7 separate regions of the Homo sapiens genome follow, and all the other regions are linked to region 3. Evidence: promoter capture Hi-C in 16 types of primary human blood cells and fetal thymus (Javierre and others, 2016). All regions are on one chromosome and are shown on one strand. Each heading gives the region's core, a stretch centred on a gene start or on the middle of the fragment in contact. The rest is flanking DNA. Distances are from core to core; before and after follow the strand shown.

Evidence for each region. The method cuts DNA at HindIII sites, captures the fragments that hold promoters and counts their contacts. A CHiCAGO score of 5 or more calls a contact.
Region 1: a contact is called between a fragment that was not itself captured here and the fragment with the promoter of FAM131C in region 3, in 5 of 17 cell types (endothelial precursors, non-activated CD4 T cells, naive CD4 T cells and 2 more). The highest score is 7.9, in endothelial precursors.
Region 2: a contact is called between a fragment that was not itself captured here and the fragment with the promoter of FAM131C in region 3, in 14 of 17 cell types (naive CD4 T cells, fetal thymus, naive CD8 T cells and 11 more). The highest score is 15.8, in naive CD4 T cells.
Region 4: a contact is called between a fragment that was not itself captured here and the fragment with the promoter of FAM131C in region 3, in 9 of 17 cell types (naive CD4 T cells, naive CD8 T cells, endothelial precursors and 6 more). The highest score is 8.1, in naive CD4 T cells.
Region 5: a fragment that was not itself captured here is called in contact with the fragment with the promoter of FAM131C in region 3 in 15 of 17 cell types (naive CD4 T cells, endothelial precursors, activated CD4 T cells and 12 more); the score reaches 25.7 in naive CD4 T cells.
Region 6: a fragment that was not itself captured here is called in contact with the fragment with the promoter of FAM131C in region 3 in 1 of 17 cell types (activated CD4 T cells); the score reaches 5.8 in activated CD4 T cells.
Region 7: a fragment that was not itself captured here is called in contact with the fragment with the promoter of FAM131C in region 3 in 13 of 17 cell types (endothelial precursors, naive CD4 T cells, M0 macrophages and 10 more); the score reaches 14.2 in endothelial precursors.

What each region holds. Positions count from the first base shown.
Region 1 is chr1:16,294,068-16,297,085 of GRCh38, reverse strand. FBXO42 (F-box protein 42) reads left to right here. Exons shown (of 10, transcript NM_018994.3): 4 at 2,169-2,303. Among named protein-coding and RNA genes, the nearest start is that of FBXO42, 57 kb to the left of the region's middle. The HindIII fragment of the contact is 1,218 bases long and covers 871-2,088 here.
Region 2 is chr1:16,255,357-16,258,504 of GRCh38, reverse strand. FBXO42 (F-box protein 42) reads left to right here. Exons shown (of 10, transcript NM_018994.3): 5 at 1,746-1,899; 6 at 2,684-2,794. Among named protein-coding and RNA genes, the nearest start is that of CPLANE2, 20 kb to the right of the region's middle. The HindIII fragment of the contact is 4,911 bases long and covers 1-3,148 here.
Region 3 is chr1:16,072,126-16,075,304 of GRCh38, reverse strand. It overlaps FAM131C (family with sequence similarity 131 member C), which reads left to right and starts at 1,654. Exons shown (of 7, transcript NM_182623.3): 1 at 1,654-1,884. The coding sequence starts at 1,863. RefSeq lists an enhancer at 892-1,391 and a silencer at 1,600-1,759. The HindIII fragment of the contact is 12,659 bases long and covers 1-3,179 here.
Region 4 is chr1:16,275,349-16,278,270 of GRCh38, reverse strand. The region is part of intron 4 of FBXO42 (F-box protein 42); the gene reads left to right. Among named protein-coding and RNA genes, the nearest start is that of CPLANE2, 40 kb to the right of the region's middle. The HindIII fragment of the contact is 3,464 bases long and covers 1-2,922 here.
Region 5 is chr1:16,239,296-16,242,333 of GRCh38, reverse strand. It overlaps the pseudogene MT1XP1. Among named protein-coding and RNA genes, the nearest start is that of CPLANE2, 3.6 kb to the right of the region's middle. The HindIII fragment of the contact is 5,672 bases long and covers 1-3,038 here.
Region 6 is chr1:15,823,385-15,826,303 of GRCh38, reverse strand. No RefSeq gene overlaps it. Among named protein-coding and RNA genes, the nearest start is that of UQCRHL, 17 kb to the right of the region's middle. The HindIII fragment of the contact is 2,551 bases long and covers 254-2,804 here.
Region 7 is chr1:16,218,327-16,221,176 of GRCh38, reverse strand. It overlaps the pseudogene ANO7L1. Among named protein-coding and RNA genes, the nearest start is that of ARHGEF19, 7.1 kb to the right of the region's middle. The HindIII fragment of the contact is 4,750 bases long and covers 1-2,850 here.

The DNA.
Region 1 (3,018 bases), core at 230-2,729, 220 kb before region 3:
GTAATCCCAGTTACACCTACTCGGGAGACTGAGGCAGAAGAATTGCTTGAAGCTGGCAGGTGGAGGTTGCAGTGAGCCAAGATTGTGGCACTGGACTCCAGCCTCGGCCACACAGCAAGACTCTGTCTCAAAAAAAACAAAAAGCGGGGGGTGGGGGGTGCGGGGGAGGGGGGAGTTTATTCCCAGAGCTAGTATAGTGTGTATCACAGAGGTGATTATAGTAGTGGCATTGGATGAGTCAACAGTAGTAGCATTTCCCTTTTTCTGAACTCGGGTAACTAGTGCCAGAGTTCAGAAGAGACCTTAAAAATATTGGTGTGCTAAACTGAATTAGACCTACAAATATGCTAGATGATCATTAAAGCCATGCACAGGGCAATGAATCTGTGAATTTCTTGTTGGTGTTTTTTGTTTTTGTTTTTTTTTTTTTTTTTTTGAGATGGAGTCTTGCTCTGTCGTCCAGGCTGGAGTGCAGTGGCGCAATCTTGGCTCACTGCAACCTCCGCCTCCCGGGTTCAAGCGATTCTCCTGCCTCAGCCTCCTGAGTAGCTGGGATTACAGGCATGCGCCACCACGCCTGGCTAATTTTTTTATTTTTAGTAGAGACGGGGTTTTGCCATGTTGGCCAGGCTGGTCTCGAACTCCTGACCTCATGATCCGCCTGCCTCAGCCTCCCAAAGTGTTGGGATTACAGGCATGAGCCACTGCACCTGGCCTGAATCTGTGAATTTCTTTTTCCTTTCCCCTTCCTTTTATATGACACTGAACCGTTAGTTTCACATGAACATTGAGAAGTCTTTTTTGTTTACTTAATTTTATTTTATTTTATTTTTACCTCCTGCGTGCATGAAATGGATGGCAAGGAAAGCTTTGCTTGGGCCTCTTCCTGAAATCCAAGATGGCAAATGCAAGACTGTAAGGAATGTGATCGTCATTTCCAAAGGATAGAGACCGCAAGGGGCAGAACTTAGCACTCATGCATCTTTTCTAGACTCTGGCTTTGGTCTTTGTAGTTTTTGGGTAACAGCCCTTCTGATAGTCATTGCCTCTTTTTCTTAGGAATGCCTGGTGATGTGTATACAATCATCTAATCAAAGAAGGCTTTTTTTAGAGATCCTGGTGTTTTTTAAATGTTACCGTTCTGTTTTCTAGTCGGCTCCAACCAGCATGCCTTGGTAGCTCTTGGATACATATTGGGACTTAATGATTTCCATGCTTTTTCAATCTGTTGCTTTGGGACTAGTCCAAGACCATACTACTATTGAGTTTCCCCCACTGGCCTTTGGAATTAATAAAAACTGTATTTCTTCAATCACATTGGACTTTATGTGTGGTTACTTCATAGTATTGATTAAAATCATTTCATTGTGTGTCATATAAAGATTCATTTATTGGCCGGGCATGGTGGCTCATGCCTGTAATCCCAGCACTTTGAGAGGCCGAGGCGGGTGGATCACCTGAGGTCAGGAGTTCGAGATTAGCCTGGCCAACATGGTGAAACTCCATCTCTACTAAAAATACAAAAAAATTAGCTGGGTGTGGTGGTGCACACCTGTAATCCCAGCTACTTGGGAGGCTGAGGCAGGAGAATCGCTTGCACCTGGGAGGCAGATGTTGCAGTGAGCCGAGATCATGCCACTGCACTCCAGCCTGGCTGACAGAGGGAGACTCCATCTCAAAAAAAGAAAGAAAGAAAAAAAAAAGATTCATTTATTGATTTGTGCTTCAGGTTTAATTTGAAAACAAAAACAATAGGAGAATTGGAGGAAAGGAATGGGAGGACAGAGTACATGTGTTGGCATACCTTTGCTTAGCTCTAGAGGATAATGATGCAGATTTAGATCAATTATGTAGCTGTGCTGAAATTTCCCTCATTTGAGCACCTTTAATGTGAATTATTATGTGTTCTTGCTGGACTTACACTGTTACATCATTGTCAACTTGCTTAGTGTGCTCAGAAATAAAATTTTCATAGCTTTCCTCTGGACCTTGTTTTAAAGGGTAATATATTGATCCACTTGGAGACAAGAGGCTGGTAATAGAAATTTGGTACTTGGTAACAAAATTGCTGAATGTGTGAAATAAGCTTTGAAAAATATATGTTATGGTTAAAATGTTGGAAGGGCCTCAGAATTTTCACAGCAGTTATTTGTGTATTTTCTTTCTAGGTGCATGCTATTATGATGCTAATCAGTCTATGTATGTGTTTGGAGGCTGTACCCAGAGCAGCTGCAATGCTGCTTTCAATGACCTCTGGAGACTTGACCTAAACAGCAAAGAGTGGATCCGACCTTTGGCTTCAGGTAAGAGATGAAATGCTGATCTTTGCCTCCTTACCAGGTGACTCCCTTGGCATGGAAACTCTACCTGATCATTTTTGGTGTTGGTCTCAAGGATGGGTTACTGGGACTCAGGTCCTTAAGTTTAATGTGCCATGTAAATGATAATAGTAATATGCTTGTGTAAGTCTTTGTTTTTTGTTAAATTATACTTTATCATTAGTAATGGTGCCCTGCCAAAATTGCTGTACTGCTGTGTGAATTCATTTGCATGGTTTTCTCAAGTATACTCATACAGGTGTGATACATCATTTGGTAGGAGGTTGAAGTAAGAACAGAAACACAGAGTCGTGAGAACTGTAGTTGACTGACAGAAGCTATTGTCCTAGGGCTAAGGTCTCTGAATATCTGTTGTTGTTGCCAGCTCAGATATTTGGGGAGTGTATGGGACGTGCCTCTGCTAGTTACTCTTAACAACCCAGGGGTGTGGGAAGATTCTACAGTAGGTACATTCCTACCCAGTCCCACTATGCCAGAAATCTGGCAGAAAGAAACTAGATTATTTTCTTATTTTTGACCTAACCTCTCCTGGGGGAAAAAATAAAAACAATGGTTTTTGCACTCATGAGGCAGGGCAATTTGAGGAGGCATAGATTGGAGGGGTTGGTGTGATGGAGAAATAGTGTCCACTGAGTATAAAGTATTCTGCTAGATTTTTTGGCAAGCTTTTCCCAAAACA
Region 2 (3,148 bases), core at 422-2,921, 180 kb before region 3:
CTTGCCTGTATTCCTAGCTATTTGGGAGGTTAAAGTGGGAGGATCCCTTGAGCCCAGGAGGTTGAGGCTGCAGTGAGCCGTAATTGTGCCACTGCACTCCAGCCTGGGCAACAGCAAGACCCTGTCTCAAAAAAAAAAAAAGGAAGAAGAAATGAAAAATAGCTGATGCCACATGGTGTTCTTAGATGCTCACCCTGTACTCTTCAGGACTGATGCCTTCTCAGTAAATCGTATTGTTCCCCTAAGTGAGATCACAAGAAAGACAGTCCTCTGCTCTACCTTCTCAACCTTGAGACTTTGTAAGTGACACCATTAAAGCAGTCTGAGCAGGGCTTTTCAAACAGTGTTCTGTAATGTGCTACTGAAAGAGGAAGCAAAGCTCTCCACCTAGATTGGAGCATCTCGACTGCTGTCAGGTTAATGTAGTGTTGGGATTTCTTCTGCTTAAGATATCCTTTGAAAAATGAGTCCTGCAGCTTTAACCAAAAAGAAAAAAAAAAGATTTTAAAAAAAAAAGTATTCTCAGCGAGGCATGGTGGCTCACGCCTGTAATCCCAGCACTTTGGGAGGCCAAAGCGGGTAGATCACCTGAGGTCAGGAGTTTGAGACCAGCCTGGCCAACATGGTGAAACCCCATCTCAACTAAAAATGCAACAATTAGCTGGGCATGATGGCAGATGCCTGTAATCCCAGCTACTCAGGAGGCTAAGGCAGGAAAATCACTTGAACCCAGGAGGTGGAGGTTGCAGTGAGCCGAGATTGCATCATTGCACTCCAGCCTGGGTGACAAAGCGAGACTCCACCTCCAAAGGAAAAAAAAAGTATTCTGGTATTTACTGACACCTGGATATTGGGACAAGTTACTTTGGTCTTGAGGAAACTAAAGGTGACATGTAGAGTGAGGGATGGGGAAAAATAGCAATTGTTATTTCAAAGACAATAGATTTTGAAAAATTATGCTCCTGTAAGACATTTGTTATCTCTAAAGTTTTCCAGCATAAGCCAAAGTGTTTTTTTTCAGAATTTGGTCAGTGTAGCCCAGAGGTCCAGTCTAGATGGTGTTTGGTGTAAGACTTATGGTTTCACTGGAATTCCTTCACACCAATCCTTGAAGGTCTGCCCCATTTGTGCTAGGCTGAGGCTATCTGGTTATGTGAAGCCCATAGCTAGGGGCCTGGAGGTCCCTATGTTAAAATTTGACTCACGGGACAAATAAGAACTGCCTCCTGCCTCCTTTTCTTACCTGTGTTTTGTAACGAGTTATTTTTAAGTTGCATCCAGACATCCAGCCTCTATGTATACTTCTCCCTGGTCCTCTACATTCTTTCTTTTCTTTGTGACCTCTGTTAAGTTTGTTAAAGGGATGGGAAGGGGTGCTCATTTGTTGAGCACTTTCTATGTGCCAGGCATTATGTTAGGTGCTTTGAATATACTATTTAATACTCAAAACAGCCTTATGAGATAGGTACTCTCATCCCTAATTTTAGGTGAGCAAATTATAAACATGAGAGAGGCTAAGTAACTTTTCTCTAACTCATATTTCTCTGTTAATAATAAAAGACGTGTGAATTAGTGATGATTTTCTCTCAGACTCAAACCCAGTTTTCTTTCCACCTTTCCTCTACACTTTGTAGTATTAGTTCCCCTTTTGTTGCTCTTCCAGGGAAAGGTGATCTATGGATAGCCTAACTACGGATTGTTGTGAGATCCTGAATGCTAACCATGGTGTTACTGACTTTCCCTAGGGTCCTATCCTTCCCCCAAAGCTGGAGCAACTCTGGTCGTGTACAAGGACTTGCTAGTGCTGTTTGGTGGCTGGACGCGGCCAAGCCCTTATCCCCTACACCAGCCAGAGAGATTCTTTGATGAAATACACACTTACTCACCCTCTAAAAATTGGTAAGTCACAAAGATAAACTCTTTAAATCTGGAAGAAAAGGCCTTAAATCAGTGGATTCTTTGTTTTTTTGTGTCAAGAGTCCCTTTGAGAATTAGATGGAAAGCTGTGGACTCTTTTCCCAGGAGGGGAAAAATGCACATATTCACAGATTTTACCAACAGTTTCAGAGAGTTTACAGGACTCTCTTAGAACCCTGCATTTAGAATCCTTATTCTAAAGAGAAAAAATAGAAGAGATTTATTCCTCTTTCAAGAAAAATGAATGAGCCAGTTGAAGAACAGCGAGCTCTTCAGCTTTGGCTGCTAACACTCCAGGAGTGTTGTAGATCCAGATGATTCCTTACTCCTAACTGTGTCTCCAAGACTTACTCTGAATTGTTTTTCAAACATATATCTCTTAATGACAGCAACCGCCGTTTCTTGTAATGGAAGACTTAGTACGTGGCGCTTGTTAGCTGTTACTGATCAGGACCATAGGGAAAGGTAGCAGGTGGCAGGTGGTGCTTTGTCAGCAAACCAGGCCAAAGAAGCCATGATCTTGTCTCTTGTCATCGTTTTCTCATCTCTCTCCCTCCAGACCGTTTACATTCAGAACTTGAAAGAAGATAACTTTAAGCAAACTTGTAGGAAAGGCATAAATACATTATGCCATCCTCTACTTATTATCCCAACAAATCTCTGCTGAAAGTGATAGGATTATCATTTTAAATGGATGCCTACTTACTATTTTTACATAAAGTGTGTGGTGCTGACTTCTTGACTTCCTCCTGTCTTTTTACATTAGGTGGAACTGCATTGTGACAACCCATGGGCCACCTCCCATGGCTGGCCACTCCTCCTGTGTGATAGATGATAAAATGATTGTCTTTGGTGGCTCTTTAGGATCCCGGCAAATGTAAGTACATTTGGTTTGCTCCATATGAGCCTGAAGGTAAATACTCCTGGGAATAACAGGTTTAAAAGTGAATTAGGGACCAGGTGCCTAATTCACACCTGTAATCCCAGCATTTTGGGAGGCCAAGGTGGGTGGATCACCTGAGGTCAGGAGTTTGTGACCAGCATGGCGAACATGGCGAAGCCCCATCTCTACTAAAAATACAAAAATTAGCCGGGCATGGTGGCACACACCTGTAGTCCCAGTTACTTGGGAGACTAAGGCAGGAGAATCGCTTGAACCTGGGAAGTGGCGATTGCAGTGAGCCAAGATCACCCCATTGCATTCCAGCCTGGGCAACAGATCGAGACTCTT
Region 3 (3,179 bases), core at 405-2,904:
TGGAGTGTAGTGGCACGATTTCGGCTCACTGCAACCTCCACTTTCCCGGGTTCAAGCAATTCTCCTGCCTCAGCCTCCCGAGTAGCTGGGATTACAGGCTTGTGCCACCACACCTAGCTTTTTATTTATTTATTTATTTTGAGATGGAGTTTCTCTCTTGTAGCCCAGGCTGGAGTGCAGTGGCATGGTCTTGGCTCACTGTACCCTGGGTTCAAGCAACTCTCCTGCCTCAGCCTCCTGAGTAGCTGGGATTACAGGCGCCCACCACCACCATGCCTGGCTAATTTTTGTATTTTTAGTAGAGACGGGGTTTCACCATGTTGGCTAGGCTGGTCTCAAACTCCTGACCTCAGGTGATCCGCCCACCTCGGCCTCCCAAAGTGGTGTGATTACAGGCATGAACTACTGTGCCAAGCCCACACCCAGCTAATTTTTTATATTTTTGGTAGAGACGGAGTTTCACCATATTGGCCAGGCTGGTCTCGAACTCCTGACCTCAAGTGATCTGCCTGCCTTGGCCTCCCAAAGTGCTGGGATTACAGGCGTGGGCCACCGCGCCTGGCCCCTCCTTATTCATTCTTCAAAACATTTCTCTGCTGCCACCAGTGAACCTGGCTGCCTCAACTGGAAAACAGACACAAGAGTGCCTGCCCTGCCTGATGCACAGGTGGGCATGAAGGAGAGAGCGAGATGCTATGTGTGAGTGAGGGTCTCAGACACTGACATTGAGTGCTGTGTGCATGGGAAATTTTGCTAAAGGATCTTCACACCTCAGGAGCTGGGATGTGTGTGTGTGTGTGTGTGTGTAAATGCAAGCGTGCTTCAATGTGAGTGTATAACTGTCATTGTGTGGGTGTGAGTGGGTATGTACACATGGGAGACTGTGTATTCATGTGTAGGTATGTGAGTGTGTGTGCGTGTATGTAAATGCAAGTGTGCATATATATGTGTGTGTATGACCATCAGTGTGTGAATGAGGGGTATGTACACATGGGAGAGTGTGTGTGTAGGTACGTGCGAGTAAGTGTGAATGACTACAGAGGCCGTCCAGGGCTGGGGAAAAAAACCTGTGCCTCAGTTTACTCTGCCCTAGACAAGCCCTGAGAGGCAGCCTTGCCCCCCTCTTCAACCATCGCTGGAGACCCTTCATCCCGCCGCCAGGCCACCAGCGCACTATCTACCCGCACTCTCTCTACCCCACCTCTGGGCATATATTATTTTGCATATGTTAATTTCAATAGCTCTGAATGAGGCGCTGACAGTCAAAAGTCGCTGAACTCACAGCTTAGGGCTCTCAGGCAAGGCCTCTAACTTCTGCGAGCCTCACTTTCATCCTCTAAAAATAGGCCCAATGGAACTGTTGTTCTTGCGCGCACCCCTCCTCGCTCCCAAGCCTTCGTGCCCAGTCGTCGTTGGTGTGGTTAAATTCATGTTGTTTACTTTGTGCCCCAAATGCCAGGAGTCTCCCCGCCCCCTCTGTCCCCTTCCCTGACCTTCAGCCCGGGCAACCCCAGGAGGTGGGGGAGCCCCGAAGGGACAGAGATGGCCCTCCCGCGCGCTGCGGCCACAGGTGTGCCCGAGCCTCCCGGCTGCGCTCCCCCGGGCCCCGCCCGCCGCGCCCCGCGGTGTCGCCCTCCCCTGGCAGCGGCGGGCACTGCGCGGGAGGCGGCGGCGCGAGGCGAGCCGGGCGCGGCGGCAGCAGGGACGACCCAGGCTGGAGCTGAGGCCGAGCTGAGGGCGCCCGAGCCCCCCGCCCCGCCCGTCCTCTGGCTCCGCAGCGCTCAGCCCCGGGCCCGCGGAGACATGAACGCCCCGCGGCCCCACGCACCCCGGGCGCAGCGGCCCGGCCCCGCGGCCCCGTGATGGGCTCCTGCGTGTCGCGAGGTGAGGGGGCCCGGCCGGGGGCGGGGGGATCGGGTGCCGGGGACCCGCGCAGTCCCCTCGCCGCTCGGAGACCTGGGGGATGGGGCTGGCGACCCGCCCTTCACGGCCCCGCCGCACCCCTGGGGACGCGGCGTCCTGAGGGGGACAGAGCTAGGGACGGTAGGGGGCGGGGGCAGCGCAGAGAGCGCACGTGCAGAGGTCACCGCATCCCCGCCCCAGTTTGCAGCCCCGCAGGTGACACGAAGCAGGGTCCCGTGCCGTGCCGCGCTCTCATCCCTACAGCCACACACCCCCTGCCGGGTGCCTGGGAACCAGCTCTGGTTCTTCCTGGCTTCCCGGAGGAACTGCGGGCACCGGGAGAACTAGCAGACCCTCCCTTTCCCACCCCTCCCCAAGACACAGGTCTTACCAGCTCACCCCCACAGCCCCTTCCCACGTCTTACCGGGTGCCCCCATCTGCAGAGCCCCTGAACCCTGTTGGCAGGAAAGGGTTAATGGTGGGGCACAGGTTATAAAGAAGGTTCCCCTGCCCCCTAATCCTCCTCCCCACCCCCATCCTTGGACAGGGGACAGAAGGGCCAGAGCACAGCTGATGTTCCCAGTTACCCCTGGGCCTTTCTCTCTGTGTCTGACCTGTCACCCTCCACTCTCCCCCACGTGGTACCCAAGGAGGTGGAGGGGACCTGCCCTTGCCTGGGGGCCCAGGGCAGGCCCCAGCCTCTTCTATCTGTGAGGAGGGGACACACAGTCTTGCACAGAGATTGGGGGATGGGCAGTTTGGTCTTTGGAGCCCCCTACCTCCACCCCCACCCATCACCACCAGCTTTCCAACAGGCTGTTGGGCAACATTTTAGACAAGCGATTGGGCTGAGCCCTTCTCCCACCTTGGTCTGTTCACCCCACAGTGGGATCAGGGGGGTGTGACTGGGAGTGGGGGTGGCTTTGGCCTTGGTTCAGGCTCTGCAGGCTGAGGCCAAACCCACTGACCACCACCACACCCATCACCCCTAGTAGCTTACCCAGAATAGAGGGGACCTTGTCCTGGGGGTATTGAGCAAGGAGCACAATGACCTTCCCCCATCCTCTGGACTCGAAGGGCTTCTGCTCAGGAGTTCCTGTGGGCATTCAGGTAAGTGGCTCAGGATGTCTCTGGGAGGTATCGGGGTGGAATCCCGGCTGGGGAAGGGGAAGGTACAGGGTCAGGCTGTGTGGGGTTCCTTTACTTATCCATGCATTAAGCTGATATTAACATGATAGCTGCCGTGTGCCAGGCACCGTGTGCATGCTGGGCATCC
Region 4 (2,922 bases), core at 119-2,618, 200 kb before region 3:
GATTCTCCTGCCTCAGCCTCCCGAGTAGCTGGGATTACAGGCATGTGCCACCATACCCAGCTAATTTTGTATTTTTAGTTGAGATGGAGTTTCTCCATGTTGGTCAGGGTGGTCTCAAACTCCCAGCCTCAGGTGATCCGCCCGCCTCGGCCTCCCAAAGTGCTGGGATTACAGGCATGAGCCACCACGCCTGGCCTGGATGTGGATTTTTAAAAATTATTTATTTTTTGATACAGGGTGTCACTCCATCACCCAGGCTGGAGTACAGTGGCACGAACATGGTTTACTGCAGCCTCGACCTCTTGGGCTCAAGTGATCCTCCTGCCTCAGCCTCCCTAGTAGCTGGGACTATAGACATATGCCACCAAGCCCAGCTAATTTTTTAAATTTTTTGTTGAGACAGGGTCTTGCCCTGTTGCCCAGGCTGGTCTCAAACTTCTAGGCTCAAGTGATCCTCCTGCCTCATCCTCCGAAAGTGCTGGGATTACAGGCCTGAGCCACCACGCCCAGCCTGGATGTGGAATTTTTTAATTTTTTTTTTTTTTTTGAGACAGAATCTCGCTCTGTCACCCGGCCTGGAGTGCAGTGGCGAATTTCGGCTCATTGCAACCTCCGCCTCCTGGATTCAAGCAATTCTTCTGCCTCAGCCTCCTGAGTAGCTGGGATTACAGGTGCATACCACCACGCCCGGCTAGTTTTTGTATTTTTAGTAGAGATAGGGTTTCACCGTGTTGGCCAGGCTGGTCTCAAACTTCTGAGCTCAAGTGATCCGCTTGCCTCGGCCCCCCAAAATGCTGGGATTACAAGCATTAGCCACCATGCCCAGCCTGGATATGGAATTTTTAAAAATAATATATTAGTAGTGGGGGCAGGGAGGAGAAAAAAAGAAAAAAAAAGAATGATGTATTAATGTGCTTGTCACTATTCGATTCTGCTTTTTAATATTGTTTTGCACTAAGCACTTTATACATTTTTAAAATTATAATATGCAAATGTGTTAGGAGAATGCCAAATCTTGTGGCAATGGGGAAGAAGTGGATGATGATTAACTGCTGAATATCAGACAGTATAACAAGAGGACACACGTGCCTTTCAAATATACTCCTAGCTTCTATTCTGTCTTAAAAACGAGTGATTGATCTCATTGTTTTAGTATTTTGTTTGTGAATGAGACAATCCAGTTCTACTCACAGATCTTTCCTTGATTACCAAATGTATTTATTACCAAAATGTATTAATATCTGTCCTTAGCTATTTCTCCTCCATGTTGAAAATCCTGCCTCCTTTAACTTGTAGTCATTGGGTCAAACTCATGAGACTTTTCTATTCTTTCTTAAAACCATCTAAAATAAAACCTTCTTATTTTAGTAGTGTCAGTGAAAATAAGCAGTGACATTTCTTAGAATTCTCAGCTTTCAAATCTACATGCTGTGATCCTGTCTGCCTACCATCTGGACAGTTTTTGTTTACTCTTGGGTTCCCCCATGGAGTAAAAGTCTCAAATCATCTAGCATTGTTTCTCTTATTCTCAGGTATCCATGTAATCTCCTAACAGTACTTCATGTTTTATTACCACAATAAATTTCATTTCATATGATGCCTTATCCTTGTATATCTCCAATGCTATATAGATTAACTTTATGTCCTAAATGTAGTTATAAGAGGCTAATTCTAAATGGGAGAGGAACGCAAGATACTATCCCTGAGTCATTTCTAACTTCTGCTTCCCAGGAATGACCCTCTTGGTTTCAAGGACACTTGGTAGTGCCATGGACCAATTCATGGCTCGTGCTCAATGTTTGGCTGTTTAGTTTCTATGTAATTAGGATCAGGCCAGTTTCTCAAGTTCTCCAGTTTTCTTTTCTTTTCTTTTCTTTTTTTTTTTTTTTTTGAGACAGAGTGTCGGTCTGTCGCCCGGGCTGGTGTGCAGTGGTGTGATCTCGGCTTACTGCAAGCTCTGCCTCCTGGGTTCACGCCATTCTCCTGCCTCAGCCTCCCGAATAGCTGGGACTACAGGTGCATGCCACCATGCCCGGCTAATTTTTTGTATTTTTAGTAGAACGGGGTTTCACCGTGTTAGCCAGGATGGTCTCGATCTCCTGACCTCGTGATCCACCCACCTCGGCCTCCCAAAGTGCTGGGATTACAGGCGTGAGCCACCGCACCCTGCCAAGTTTTCCAGTTTTCATAACTGTGAGGAGATGTGCTGTTCCTAGGTGGGTAAGAGCTGTGATGGGTCGTTTATTGACTTATAAATATCACCTTGAATTCTAGGAGGCTCCTTTGCCCTTTTTTGTTTATTTATTTTGAGACGGGGTCTCACTCTGTTGCCAAGGCTGTTCTTGGCAACAATTCTCCTCCCTCAGCCTCCCGAGTAGCTGGGATTACAAGCACGTACCACCACCACGCCTGGCTAATTTTTTTAGTAGAGACGGGGTTTTGCCATGTTGGCCAGGCTGGTCTCCAACTCCTGACCTTAGGTGATTCACCCACCTCAGCGTCCTAAAGCGCTGGGATTACAGGCATGAGCAACCACTCCTGGCCTCCTTTGTCCTTTTAAAACTCAGAAGCTATTTCTCATTCCCCCTTGAGGAGATGAACTCTTGAACTATGGCTTTTTATTTTTATTCTTCCTTTTCTGTTTTTGGGTAAGAGACAGGGTCTAGCTTTTTGTCCCTGAGTGGAATACAGTGGCATCATCATAGCTCACTGCAGCCTCAAATTCCTGGGCTCAAGCGATCCTCCTGCTTCAGCCTCCCAAGTAGCAAGGACTACAGGCATGAACCACTATGCCCAGCTATTTTATTTTATTATTTGTAGAGACAGCGTCTCACTGTAATGCCCAGACTGGTCTTGCACTCCTAGCCTCAAGTGATCCCCCTGCCTTGGCCTCTCGAAGTACCGAGATTACAGACATGAGCC
Region 5 (3,038 bases), core at 267-2,766, 170 kb before region 3:
GCTCTCCATGCCTCATTCTCACCCCAGCTCGGCCTGTGTGTCTGCCCACCTGGGCCTCCCATCCACTCTGTCAAGTTGGTGACTGTGTCCCTGCCTTGTGGAGTCCTCTCAAGGTCTTGTGGGGACCTTGTCCAAGAGGTTTTTAATAAATATTTGTGGGGAGACCAAACCAAGAAGAAATGAGTGGATTAATCACAGGGCTCTAGGCCGGGCACAGTGGCTCATGCCTGTAATCCCAGCACTTTGGGAGGCCGAGGCGGGCAGATCACGAGGTCAGGAGATTGAGACCGTCCTGGCCAACATGGTGAAACCTTGTCTCTACTAAAAATACAAAAATTAGCTAGGCGTGGTGGCATGCGCCTGTAGTCCCAGCTACTTGGGAGGCTGAGGCAGGAGACCTGCTTGAACCTGGGAGGTGGAAGTTGCGGTGAGCCAAGATCATGCCACTGCACTCCAGCCTGGCGACAGAGCAAGGCTCTGTCTCAAAAAAAAAAAAAAAAAAAATCAGAGGGCTCTAGACTAGAAGAGTCCTTAGGGAGATGTTCTACATGTTTTGCTTGAGGCCCTGAAAGGAGAAGCAGCTGGCTTAGGGGGACACATAGTTTAGTGGTCAGAGGGGCACAGGAGAGCAGAACTCATAGACCAACACGGTCCACAAGCGTCCTTCTGAAACGCAGTTCTAACCATGTCACTTTCAGGTCCCAACAGTCAGCTGGCCTCCTTTGCCCAGCAGCAGTGTTTACATGAGGTCTGTGGACCCTGTTATGGACTGAATTATGCCCTGCTCCACCCAAATCCATACATTGAAGCCCTAGCCCCCAATGTGACCATATTTGGAAATAGGTCCTTTAAAGAGGTAATTAAGGCACGCTTTTCATCTGTCCCGCTGAGTGTTTGCCTCTTGATCAGGAACTCCTGCTTCTCCCTGCCTCTAAATGGACCCCAACTGCTCCTGCTCGCCTGATGGTTCCTGCGCCTGTGCCGGCTCCTGCAAATGAAAAGAGTGCACATGCACCTCCTGCAAGAAGAGCTGCTGCTCCTGCTGCCCTGTGGGCTGTGCCAAGTGTGCCCAGGGCTGCATCTGCAAAGGGACGTCGGACAACTGCAGCTGCTGTGCCTGATGCCAGGACAGCCCTGCTCTCAGATGTAAATAGAGCAACCTTATAAACCTGGATTTTTTTGGTACAACCCTGACCCATTTGCTACATCTTTTTTTCTATGAAATATGTGAATGGCAATAAATTCATCTAGACTAAAAAAAAAAAAAAAAAAAAAGGTAATGAAGGGTGAGCATGGTGACTGATGACTGTAATCCCAGCACTTTCAGAGGCCAAGGCAGGCAGATCACTTGAGGCCAGGAGTTTGAGACAAGCCTGGGCAACAAGGCAAAACCGTACCTCTAAAAAAATACAAAAGAAAAAGTCCGGGCATGGTGGCTAATGCCTGTAATCCCAGCACTTTGGGAGGCCAAGGCGGGCGGATCACCCGAGGTCAGGAGTTCAAGACCAGCCTGGCCAACATGGTAGAACCCCGTCTCTACTAAAAATACAAAAATTAGCTGGGTGTGGTGGCAGGCGCCTGTAATCCCAGCTACTTGGGAGGCTGAGGCAGGAGAATCACTTGAACCTGGGAGATGGAGGTTGCAGTGAGCAAAGATCGCGCCATTGCACTCCAGCCTGGGGCACAAGAGCGAGACTTTGTCTCAAACAAACAAACAAAAATACAAAAAAAAAAAAAATTAGCCAGGCGTGCTGATATGCACCTGTAGTCCTAGCTCCCCTCGGGGCTGAGGCAGGAGGATTGCTTGAGCCTGAGGAGGTCGTGGCTGCAGTGAGCTGAGATCACACCACTGCCCTCTAGCCTGGGTGACAGAGTGAGGCCCTGTCTCAAAAAATAAAAGAAAAAGGTAATCAAGGTTAAATGAGACCATAAGCATGGAGCCCTAATCCAGTAGGACTAATGTCCTATTTGTAACAGAGGAAGAGACACCAGACATGTATAAGCACAGAGAAGAGGCCATCTGTAAGCCAGGAAGAGAGGCCCCACCCAGAAACCAACTCTGCTGGCACCTTGATCTTGGACTTCCAGCCTCTAGAACTATGAGAAAATAAATTTCTGTTGTTTAGAGTACCCAGACTGTGGTATTTTTGTTACAGCAGCCTGGGCTGACTCATATAGACCCCAACTTCAGAACTGCCTAGTGCTTTTGTCAAATCTGCAGGCTCACAGACCTACCCAGCCCCTGACACAGAATGTCGGGGTTGGATGTGTGAACCCCAAATATCTGAGACAGGTCACAGTCAATTTAGAAAGTTTATTTTGCCAAGGTTAAGGATGTGCCCGTGACAGCCTCAGGAAATCCTGAGACATATACCCAAGGTGGTCAGGGGTACAGTTTGCATTTAAGTTTTAGGGAGACATGAGACCTCAATCAATATGTGTAAGATGTACATTGGTTTGGTCTGGTAAGACAGGACAGCTTGAAGCAGGGGCTTCCAGGTTAGAAATACATAAGAGACAAGGCCAGGTGCAGTGGCTCATGCCTATAATCCCAGCACTTTGGAAGGCTGAGGTGGGCGGATCATGAGGTCAGGAGATCCAGACCATCCTGGCCAACATGGTGAAACCCCGTCTCTACTAAAATACAACAACAACAAAAATTAGCCGGACATGGTGGGGCATGCCTATAGTCCCAGCTACCTGGGAGGCTGAGGCAGGGGAATCACTTGAACCTCAGAGGCAGAGGTTGCAGTGAGCCGAGATTGTGCCACTGCACTCCAGCCTGGGCGACAGAGTGAGACTCTGTCTCAAAAAAAAAAAAAGTAGATAGGAGACAAAAGATTGCATTCTTTTGAGTCCTTGATCAGCCTTCCACTGAATACATAATTTTATTTATTCAGCTCTGTCACCCAGGCTGGAGTGCAGTGATATGATTCTGCTCACTGCAACCTCCACCTCCCAGGTTCAAGCGATTCTTCTGCCTCAACCTCCAGAGTAGCTGGGATTACAGGCGCCTGCCATCACAGCCAGATAATTTT
Region 6 (2,919 bases), core at 280-2,779, 250 kb after region 3:
GAAGCAGGAGAATTGCTTGAACCCGGGAGGCGGAGGTTGCAGTGAGCCGAGATCGCACCACTTCACTCCAGCCTGGATGACAGAGTAAGACTCGGTCTCAAAAAAAAAAAAAAAAAAAAGTGAAGGGAATGGTCAACTATGAAATGCTGCTGAGAGATTAAGCTGAGGCATGAAAATTGAGTGTTGTATGAATAAGTGGAAGTCATGGGTGACCTTGACACAAGCTGTCTGGGTGGAGTAGGAGGCAAAAGCTTGATTGGAATGGATTGAAGAAAAAAAAAAAAAAAACAGTAAGTATGACCTTTGGAAAAGTCTGACAGTGAGGCTTAGAGGGGAAGATGCCAGAGACTGTGATGTTGGAAAGTACCTTCTGTTTTAGGAAGTTCCTGGGTCAGTGCAGCAAGAGGGAACTCAAAACCTTAGGGCTTCTGGAGGAATTGTTACACTCCCAGGATGTGGTCTCCTTCTACCCTCATATCTGCTCCATGATAACATGAATAATAAATTATTTCTTGGCTGGGAGAACTCCAGCTCAAAAGATCCTGCTGCCTCTGTCTCCCAAAGTACTAGGATTACAGGCGTGAGCCACTGTGCCCGGCTGTATTTTTCTTTACTTTTTTTTTTTTTTTTTGAGACAGAGTCACGCTCTGTCACCCAGGCTGGAGTGCAGTGGCCTGATCTCTGCTCACTGCAACCTCTGCCTCCCAGGTTCAAGTGGTTCCCCTGCCTCAGCCTCCTGAGTAGCTGGGATTACAGGCATGTGCCACCACACCCGCTTAATTGTTGTATTTTTAGTAGAGACGGGGTTTCACCATGTTGTCCAGGCTGGTCTCGAATTCCTGACCTCATGACCCACCTGCCTTGGCCTTCCAAAGTGCTGGGATTACAGGCGTGAGCCACCGCACCCAGCCATAATTTTCTTTTTAAAAGACTTTCTTCCCCCATATTGGACCCTGCTCTAGTTCTACCACATCCCAGTGAACAACAGTGAAATAAAAAGATTGTCTACGTGCTTAATTTGAAAACGTGGGTTGGGCACGGTGGCTCACACCTGTAATCCCAGCACTTTGGGAGGCCGAGATGGGTGGATTGCCTGAGGTCAGGAGTTCAAGACCAGCTTGGCCAACCCGGTGAAACCCCATCTCTAATAAAATACAAATATTAAGGTTGGTCGCGGTGGCTCATGCCTGTAATCCTAGCACTTTGGGAGGCTGAGGCAGGCAGATCACCTGAGGTCTGGAATTCAAGACTAGCCTGACCAACATGGAGAAACCCCGTCTCTACTAAAAATACAAAATTAGCTGGGCGTGGTAGCTCATGCCTGTAATCCCAGCTACTCGTGGGGCTAAGGCAGGAGAATCACTTGAACCCAGGAGGTGGAGGTTGCAGTGAGCTGAAATCGTGCCACTGCACTCCAGCCTGGGTGACAGAGTGAGACTCCGTCTCAAAAAAAAAAGAAAAAAAGGAAAACAGATATATCACTTTGGGGTCAAGCTCCACCTTCAGAATTTCATAAATTTTTTTTTTTTGAGACGGAGTCTTCCTCTGTCACCCAGGCTGGAGTGCAGTGGTGCAATCTCGGCTTATTATAGCTGCAGCCTCCCAGGTTCAAGCAATCTTCTGCCTCAGCCTCCCAAGTAGCTGGGATTACAGGCATGCGCCACCACAGGCGGCTAATTTTTTTTTTTTTTTTTTGAGACACAGTCTAGCTCTGTCACCAGGCTGGAGTGCAGTGGCGTGATCTCGGCCCACTGCCACCTCCACCTCCCAGGTTCAAGCGATTCTCCTGCCTCAGTCTTCTGAGTAGCTGGGATTACCAGCACGTGCCACTGCGCCCAAGTAATTTTTGTATTTTTAGTAGAGACAGGGTTTCACCATGTCGGCCAAGATGGTCTCTATCTCCTGACCTCGTGATCCGCCCACCTCAGCCTCCAAAGTGCTGGGATTATAGGCGTGAGCCACCGCGTCCAGCCTCATTTTTGTGTTTTTTAGTAGAGAAGGGGTTTTGCCATGTTGGCCAGGCTGGTCTCGAGCTTCTGACCTCCAGTGATCTGCCTGCCTCGGGCTTCCAAAGTGCTGGAATTAGAGGCATGAGCCACCCAACCCAGCTCACCTTCAGAATTCTATGTACTGATAAATATAATCAAAAGTCAAGTCCAGGCTCGGTGGCTTACCCCTGTAATCCCAGCACTTTGGGAGGCCAAGGCAGGTGGATAACCTGAGGTCAGGAGTTCAGGGCCAGCCTGGCCAACATAGTGAAACCCCATCTCTACTAAAAACACAAAAAATTTCCTGGGTATGGTGGCACGCCCCTGTAATCCCAGCTGCTCCGGAGGCTAAGGCAGGAGAATTGCTTGAACCCAGGAGGCAGAGGTTGCAATGAACAGAGACCACACCATTGCACTCCAGCTTGGAAAACAAAAGTGAAACTCCCACTCAAAAAAAAAAAAAAAAAAAAAAACAAGTCAAAATGTGTATTTTCTTTTTTTAATCATCCGGCTCAGCCTCCTGAGTAGCTGGGACTACAGGTGATGCCACTACACCCGGCTAATATTTTGTATTTTTGATAGAGATGGGGCTTCTCCATGTTGCCCAGGCTGGTCTCCAACTTCTGAGATCAGATGATCCACTCACCTGGGCCTCCCAAAGTGCTAGGATTACAGGCGTGAGTCACTGTGCTTGGCCAATTTGTATTTTCAATGTATTACTTTATCATTCTTTATTGGAACATGTGATTAAATACAGATATAAAGTATCATGTATATTTTATCCTGCAACATTTATGCCTAATAGCTATTGAAGCTTTTTTTTTTTTTTTTTTTTTTGAGATGGAGTTTCACTCTTGTTGACCAGGCAGGAGTGCAATGGCACGATCTCTGCTAACTGAAACCTCCACCTCCAGGATTCAAGCAATTCTCC
Region 7 (2,850 bases), core at 70-2,569, 150 kb before region 3:
TGGCCCTAGGATGCACATTTCTGTTGCCCCCTGTGATAGGAGTGCCCACATCTACAGTTTGCTGCCCTGGCCCTGCAGATGACCCAGAACCCAGTGACAGGCTTGAAGGAGCCCTACTTCCAACCGCACAGCTGCCTTTCCCACCTACTCACCAGCTCTGCAGCCATCCTCACTGTGGTGAGGGGACACTGGGCCTTTGCTCTGGAAGGACTGGCTCCTCCAGGGTGGGTGCACTGGAACCCTGGCAGTCCACTCTCCAGCTCTGACAGCCCTCTCTCCTGGCCCCCAGCTCTGTGTGGTGATGATTTTCCTGGTATCTGTCATAATTTACCATGGCATCATCAGCATTGCAATGTTCCACACTGGCAACTCTGTGCTCATGACCCAAGCGAATGTCCTTTGGGGCAATGGAGGGTGAGAGCACTGTTCCAGGCTCCAGGCCTAATGTGGGCATCTTCAGGTTTTTTTCATCCCACCAATGGATGGGCTCCCGGTAATGGCCCACCACACCCGCCTAATTTTTGTATTTTTAGTAGAAATGGGGTTTCACCATGTTGGTCAGGCTGGTCTCAAACTCCTGACCTCAAGTGATCCACCCATCTCAGCCTCCCAAAGTGCTGGGATTACAGGTGTGAGCCACCGTGCCTGGCCTGTTCTTCCTCTAAAACCAGGTAATGTGTTGCAAGGCTATCTTTGTGTCATCTGGGAACTGGGAGTCTGGTGTCTCCAGTCACCCTCAAGCGAGAGTGGCCAGGGACACATGGCTGGCATTAGGGGTTGGTAGGTTAAGGACAGGAGCATAGGGGCTGACCTGATGGGCTATGCCTGCCCCCTTGCGCCCAATAGAATTCTGACCAGCTCTGCCCTTTGTCCAGAGATGCCTCCATGAAAATGCCTTCACTTTCATTTTCAGTTTGTCAATTTCTATTCTTCTCCCTTCTACATGGCATTCTTCAAAGGCAGGTAAGGACCACTCCCCAAACCCCAGCCTTAGGGCTGTCGCCTCCCAAGGAAGCAGCCCAGCAAAGCAGCAGCACCCTTTGGGCTCCAGATTTGTTCCTAGCCAGGTCTTGCTATGGACCTTGAAGCTGGTTCTTGATTTCCCTGGGCGAAAGTCTTAGCAACTGTAATTTATGGGTACACCATTGCACAGCTGTAAAATCTAACACCTGCATTCAGTCTGTCCTACAGCCCTCACTGGGTGGCCCCAGGCCTGACAATGCCACCTCCCAATGCTGCAGTTTGAGTTTATCACCATCTTTTGGGGGCCTTCCTGCTGTGCACCCTTGGTTGGATGCTAGGGACACAGAAATGAATCAGAGCTGGTCCTTTTTCCTAGAAGCATTGAGTCTTTAATGAGATCTGGTTAGGAGTCATAAAATGCTGGACTCTCAGGAGGTGCTGTTATTGTGTAATTGCCATTGTCATTTGATGGGATGGGAGGGATGGTCACCAAAAGAGCCCACTCCCCAGCACAATGACCCCATCTTCCTGGGCCATAAATGCCACATTGGCTGATCATGGGTTGAGCAGTACATAGATTCAGGCCATGGTCCCAGCAGACTTCTGGGGCCTAGTAGGGTAGGCAAGGCCTCCCATCAGCTCTGTCAGCAGGGTTAGCTGTCAATTCAGGGGGTGGCCAGAGGACCAGGAGCAGTGGGGAGAGGGGGTCAGCCTCAGCATGGAGTTTAGCTGCAGCCTGGCTCCAGAGAGGGAGAGCAAATTACCCACAGATGCAGGGGGCCCTCAGGTTTGTGGGATACCCCGGTCAGTATGGCACATTTGCTCAGCATGCCGAGTGAGGATGTGATTATGTACCCCTGGGTTGCTGATTCTGGGGGGTTAGGGGGTAGTCATCACAACCTCAGGTCTGGCAGGGGTAGGATCTGCCTCTGGGGCCTCCAAAGTGGGTAGGAGGAGCAGGTGGCCAACTCTCTGCACCAGCAGGGAGGTGGGGTAACCCCTATGCAGCCCCAAAGCCCTGAGTAAGGTGCTCTGTGTCTGCCAACAACAGTGCGGTCCTGGTGGCTGCCACATTCAGGTCACCCAGCAGCTCATCATCATCATGGTGGGCAAACAGCTGCTCAACCACATGGAAGAATTTGTTGGGCTGTGAGTGTTGGGGGAAGAACGGGGGACAAGGCTGGGCCTAATCAGGCCATTTGGAGGGCTTTTATAAGAGCAGAGCAGAAAAACCCTTTACTGGGACAGAAGATACGGGCACAAGTCCTAGCCCTGCTTCTTGTAAGCTGCGTGGCTTTGTGTCTCTCTGGGCCTCAGTTTCGTCATCTGTACAATGGAGACAATAATACCTCTCCATGAGAGTTGAGGGGATTATGAGGCGTTCAACAGGAAACAGCTTTGCAAATGGAGGGCTTTCTATTACTATTTTTTTCAGGGGGCAGTGATATTTCAGAGACCAAGAATGACTATGTGGGAAGTGCAGAGTTGAGAGCACTGGACTCGAGTCTAACAGATTGGATTTGAACACTGGCTCCACCACTTACAATTTGGGGAGCCTGGGCCAAATTCTCCAGGTGTGTTTCCTCATCAATACAGTGGAAATCATCATGGTGCCTGCCTCTAAGGGGTGCTGGTGATAGAAGTGGCAGTTCCTAGCACAAGGCCCTGTTATGACCATTATCTGGTTGCCCTGCCTCCAGGAAACGGAAGGCTTGGTGGCAGAAGTGGCAGCTGGCAGGGCAGAGGGACACCCAGATCGGGCAGGAGCTGCAGCACTGGGAGAAGGAAGGACTATGAGCTCATCAAGTGTCAGGGCCTGTTTGATGAATACCCAGGGATGGAGGAGCAGTCGCTCAGCAGCGTGTGCCCTGGGCATGAGTGGGGCCC